2 separate regions of the Homo sapiens genome follow, and region 1 is linked to region 2. Evidence: promoter capture Hi-C in human tissues and cell types (Jung and others, 2019). All regions are on one chromosome and are shown on one strand. The core of a region is centred on a gene start or on the middle of the fragment in contact, and the rest is flanking DNA. Distances in the headings are between cores, read along the strand shown.

Region 1 (2,947 bases), core at 39-2,538, 36 kb before region 2:
ATACAGAAGATGTGAACAGCACTACCAACCATTCAGAATATACACGAATACTGACCAAGATAGACCATGTTCTGGGACATAAAGTAAGACTTAAAAAATCAGAAAGGACAGAATTCATGCAAACTACAGGTCTCTGACCACGAGGGAACTAAATTACAAATCAGACACAGTCAAATATCAGGAAAACCCCTAAATATTTGGAAGTTAAATAACATATACCAAAATAACCCATGGGTCAAAGAAAATAAGAAATTTAAAAATATTCAATTCAATAAAATTTTGTGGGATGCAGCTAAAGCAGATGTCAGAGGAAAATTTATAGCATAAAAAATCTAACATGTTAGCAAACAAAGGTATTAAATCAATGACTTAGAGTTCTACCTTAAGAAATCAGAGAAAAAAATAATAAAACAAAAGAAAGTAAATAATAAAGGTAAAACAAACAAAAACAAAAGAACTATAAAGAAAATTAGTGAAAACAAAAGCTAGTTTTTCAAAAGATCAATAAAACTGGCAAACCTCTAGCCAGACTAGTCACAGAGAAAAACACAGAAAACACAAATTATCAATATGAGGATTGCAAAGGGGGTAATTAATACAGATCCTGCATTAAAGGGATAAGAAAATATCACAAACAACTTTATACCCATAAATTCAACAACATAGATAAAATTTAAAATATAGGTAAAAATTTAGATTTAACAATATAGGTAAAATGTATGTCCTTGAAAGACATAAACTACCAAGGCTCACTTAGGAAAAAATAGATTACTTGAATAGTCCTATATCTAGTAACAGACATTTAAACAAGAAAATGTTAAATAAGCACATAAAAAAAAGTTCAACATTAGTAATTGTGGGAAACAATTTGTCAGTTTCTTATCAAGTTAAAGACACACTTACTATATGACTCCCACAAAAAACAAAAACATATACACAAAAAAAAACAATGCTGTACTCAAATGCTCATAGCAACTGTACTAATAATAGCCGAAAACTGGAAACAACCCAAACTGCTGAAGTTAAACCAATTGTAGTATTACCAAACAATGAGCCAGACACAAAGGCAACACACTTTGTGACTCCATTTATATGAAATTCTAAAAACTGAACTATAGTTCAGAATGCTGATAAGTGTTTGTCAAAAGCCAGGATGGGAGAAGAGAATTGACTGTAAGCGGGTACAGAGGGAACCTTTTGGGGTGATGGAAATATTTCATATCACGACTAGTGCACTCATTATTGTATATATTTCTCAAAATTCATCAGATTATACTCAATACTGGTACAATATAATGCACGTAAATTATATTGTAAGTAAATCATACCTCAACTTTTTTTTTAACTTTTAGGTTCAGAGGTACATGTGCAGGTTTGTTATATAGATAAACTCATGTCACATAGGTTTGTTGTACAGATTATTTCAGCCAGGTACTGGTCCTAGTACTAGTACTTAATAGATATTTTTTCTGATATTCTCCCTCCTCCCACCCATCACCCTCAAGTATGCCCCAGTGTCTGTTTTTCCCCTCTTTGTGTCCATGTGTTCTCATCATTTAGCTCCCACTTACAAGTGAGAACATGCAGTATTTGGTTTTCTGTTCCTGTGTTAGTTTGCTAAGGATAATGGCCTCCAGCTCCATCCATGTTCCTGCAAAGGACATGATCTTGTTCTTTTTTATGGCTGCATAGTATTGCATGGTGTATTAGTACCATACTTTCTTTATCCAATCTGCCATTGATGGGCATTTAGATTGATTCCATGTCTTTGCTATTGTAAATAGTGCTGCAATGACCATACGTGTACATGTGTCTTTATGGTAGAAAATTTTATATTCCTTTGGGTATATACCCAGCAATGAGATTGCTGGATCATACCTCATTTTTTGAAAGTGTGTATTACTAAACATAGCACTAAATTATAAATGCACGGTTTACCAAGCATCTTACTTAATTTGTCCCTTAAACTATCTCTATACCAAGGCTCAAAAGCTACATAACTAACACAAAGTCACACAGCTAGTAAATGGCAGAGGTGGCATTCTAACCTGGCTTTCCTACATGCAACTACATATAATAAAGAATAGACACTAATGCAAAGACCTCATGACTTCCTCTAGTTTCTGTGCAGGCCAATGTTTGGTTTTCTAGCTATAGCTGTTAACCATTTGTGGGTCATGAAATCAATTTAGTGGATTCAATTACCTTTTTTTTTTTTTTAAGGAATGGAGAGGAGTGAAGAAAATTAGAAAGGAATGGAAATAAAAAGATCAGAATTCATTTTGCTTAGAAATGTTAAATACTGGTTTTTAAACTTTTGTTTCAACTGAGAAGCAGAGAGTTTAGGAGTTTATGCATGCCAGGCTACAAAATAAAATATATTTCTTAATGCAGTATCTAGTCAAAAAGATTTGAAAACCATTGCTGCAGGCCAAACAGTAAAGCAGGCTGCAGTCAGATGAACAAAGAGATGAGGATCATAGAAGTACTATACTGTAGACAAATGGTTATGAAGGACAGGAGAGAAAACAGCAAGTCAAAAACAACTCCTATACTCCAAAAACACTCAGTGGACACACTGATGGATAATTTAGCATTGTCACATCCACATTCAATGTCTTCCAACTTACCTTTTCAAACCTGTCTCCCCTCACTCCCCCCTCCTCCCAACCTTTTTGCCTCTATGAGGAAAACCTTCTTCAAAACCCAGGTATAAGCAATGGAAGTTATAAGCTAAACATTTATTCACCTTTATTTATTACCCTAGCACCTAAGCTGCACTTTATACAAAGAGAATGCTCATATTTATAGAACAAACACTGCTTATAGTCTATTAACTCTGCCTAGGGAACCCAACAATATAGCAATCCTTTATTCCTTTAACAAGACAGTGAAATTCAATTCTGATAGTAACTCAAGAAATAACCTTAAAACATGAAGTACTTTT
Region 2 (3,245 bases), core at 626-3,125:
AAACACAGTGTTTTAGATGTGTTTTTTACCTTTACAGCTTAAGAGTGTTATCTTTTAGATGTCATTTCATCTTTATGAGAATCCATTTAACAAATGGCATGCTGAGATGGTCAATGTGACATACATAAGAATGAAAAACAGCACAGAGACTGGAAACCAAATGATGAAATCCTTCAATGAAACTTAACATAAATACTAATTTAGATCCTGTTTTCATGACCTCCTTGCTGGGAATGAGTCACAGAAAATAACACCTCCTGTATTCTGGACCACAGAAGTTAAAACAAAATAAAATAAGATTATTAACCCAGAGAGTAGACTATAAAAGGAAGAAAAGTCATTGCCTTAGTGGATTCTTCTCACATTAGGCAAAAATCTTTCATTGGGAAGTTAACTCTGTCCTATTCATTCTTCAGATTTGTCAAGATAATGATCAAGTCCATACTTGATCCTTCTGCAAAATGTCACTATTCCTATGACCATTTTGATACTTAATTTGGCATAATTAATCTATGCTGTTCCTCATTTTCAATTAATCTATGCTGTTTCTCATTTTCAGTATTCTGATATATCTCATGTATCAGAATATGGGCTCTCAGTCTTATTCAACTATTATTTTTAACTAAATGTTATAGTTAGCAACTGGTTCACAAACCATTATTCCCTTAATTTGTGAATCATGACTTAAATTTCTCACAATTTTTACTTGCCCACATAAGGCAAATGCTGTACTCTCTCTCTCTCTCTCTCTCTCTCTCACACACACACACACACACACACACACACACACACAGTTTTTCCATATTCCTAAGGAAAATGGTGGAGTGGTCAATGTGAAATTTCAATTCTGTTGGACTCATCCCAAATCTATCAACCCTCTATGTGATTTATTTACACACACAAACCCCAAAATAATCATCACTGCCTATACTTTCACTAGTTGACACCAACGAAAAGACAAGGTGTTAATCATGACACTTTCCTTAAGTGTTAAACACAAGCAAACCAGAATAGCAAGTTTCAAATATTTAGAATTCTTTCCAAGCTAAGCAAAACATTCTTTAGCAGTGACCACACCACCCGCCAAGTTCTAAAACTAGCTGTTTCAACTTGGAAAATTATATCTACCTTAAAAGTTCTTATATGTAATTAAAAGTTCTTATTAAAATAATAAGCAGAAAAAAAACCTGTCACCTAAAAGTTCATTTTGATATATCTTATACCCTCTTACACTAGGGAGGAAGGGAGAACTTCGACTTAAAAAATGCAATGTCCACCTAGATGACGTCAATACATATACACGTTTGAACTGCTTTTCACATCAGCGTTAAGAAATTTGGGGGCAACACAAAGATCTGGGCATTTGTCACAGGATCCAACTACAACTAGACCCGGTCGTTGTCAATCTATGATCTTTGGCACCTCTGGATCTCTAGAATAAAACTTGGTCCCCAAGTTCTTGTGGGCCCACCCTCGGCAGTCAGCCCTACGGCGGGGCGGGAGCGGCCCCACCCTAGCTCCAGGCGATACTCACAAACTTGGGGCGCTTCTCCCCAGGCTCCTCGGGGCCACTGGGCGGCGGAGGGTGTTGGGGGCCCTTCCTGCGCGGCATCTTGCTTTCCCGGCAGCCGCGGAGAGAGGCTGAGGAAGGGTAGGGAGTCCCAGCGGCTGAGCCTTGGGCCGGGTGGTGCAGCCGCGGCTGGTGCCGTTCCATCTTTCCCCGCAGCTCCGGGGACCGGAAAGAAGGTGGCCACTCAGCAAGCCGCAAGCTGGAAGCTGAGGGATCGACAACAGGTTTTACTCCCGGGGTCCGCCACCCAAACAGTCAGCACAGCCTAGCCCAACCGCTGAAGTCGGGGCCGCAGCCAACACATCTGAAAACTCCCGCCACCCGTGTTGGCCCGGGACTGGCCAATCCCGCGCCGCCGGATCAATGACACGCTGAGGCACCGCCCCTTCCGGGCACTGCGAAACATGATTGGCCTTGCGGCCTGTCTATGCAGCCGCTCAACCCTTCCGGCGGTCCAGGCCGCTCACCTTAAGGACGCAGAGTGGCGTCAGATTTGGAGAAGCGCCGGGGACCGTGGAGGAAGTCATCGGCCTGGATTTCTTTGGATTTGCAGATAGGGTTCCAGCAGAACTGGAAGGTGGGCGAGACAGGCCCTGCGCCACCATTTGAGCAGCGCTGGGATATAAAACCATCTGCTAGCCCTCTCCTTGCACGTCTGGGGCTGGAAAAAGTAGTTCTGGGACTGGGTACGGTGCTGGAAGGGGTACTAGGCAGGATGAAACGACGGGGCCCACGACGCTCCAAAAGGAAGCCTTCTGGACATATTTCCTGCCTAAGTGCTCGCTCTGGGGTGGCAGAGGGGTCCACCCAAAATCAGACAGAGCTAGGCTAGGCTGAGCCCTTCAGGAGCTCACAGTCTCCTGTAGTTTCCAAACCCTAACACAATTAACCAAGGAATGTAAATGTCTATAGCAGTTGTTTTAGAAGTTCCTTGAGAACAAAAAGGGAAGTTATTAAATCTGAAGGAGTGGATCTGGAAAGGTAAAAGGAAAGCTGCATAGGTTTTCACTAGGCAGGAAACAGTGGCAGGGCATTCATTTAAAAGGCATTCCATTCCAGGCAGGAGCAAGGCCAAGAAAGCATAGAGGTGAAGAAACTTTAAGGTCACATAACAAAGGGCCTTGAACTGAAACCATGCAAAAGAGTTTGTTGTGTAAACCCAAGGTCAAGCTACAAGGCAAACACCGTTTTCTCAACACATCAATATACCCTCTTTAAAAATGAGCTTTTCCTTGGAACTATTCCTTTAAGATATCTGTCTTCTGATTATATGGAGGTGGTGTAGGCCAAGACTCGGAAACATGCAGTATTGATTTTGGTACAAGAAACAACTCTAGGTACTCTGAGGAGTTTGGCACAGAGGTTCAAAAAATGAGCCTTAGTTCTCAGTAAGTCTTCACACTACAGCTTTTCTTTTTTAATATTTGTTTTACTGTGCCAGACTCTACAGCTCTGTCCTCAAAGAGCACATAATCTTTAGGGAAACTTACAGGAGAACAGCAAGGTCAGGAGAACTACAAGTAGTTCCTTATATCTTGATGACAGACCCAGATACAGATTTTATTCCTGCCATTTACTAGCTATTTGATACCGGAGATGACGTTTAACTTTCTTTGCTGCTTCATCTACAAAAGGGGGGTAATTATACTAATACCTATGAAAGAGGGGCATTTTC

The links. Contacts are between HindIII fragments. The study calls those that stand out against the background at their distance.
Region 1: a fragment that was not itself captured here is called in contact with the fragment with the promoter of DIAPH3 in region 2 in 1 of the 25 tissues and cell types used here (IMR-90 fibroblasts).

The regions. Positions count from the first base shown.
Region 1 is chr13:60,126,572-60,129,518 of GRCh38, forward strand. The region is part of intron 2 of DIAPH3 (diaphanous related formin 3); the gene reads right to left. Among named protein-coding and RNA genes, the nearest start is that of DIAPH3-AS2, 17 kb to the right of the region's middle. The HindIII fragment of the contact is 9,956 bases long and covers 1-2,947 here.
Region 2 is chr13:60,162,053-60,165,297 of GRCh38, forward strand. It overlaps DIAPH3 (diaphanous related formin 3), which reads right to left and starts at 1,876. Exons shown (of 28, transcript NM_001042517.2): 1 at 1,535-1,876. The coding sequence starts at 1,714. It overlaps LOC105370227 (a long non-coding RNA gene), which reads left to right and starts at 2,005. Exons shown (of 2, transcript XR_942001.2): 1 at 2,005-2,147. RefSeq lists an enhancer at 2,265-2,314. The HindIII fragment of the contact is 10,910 bases long and covers 1-3,245 here.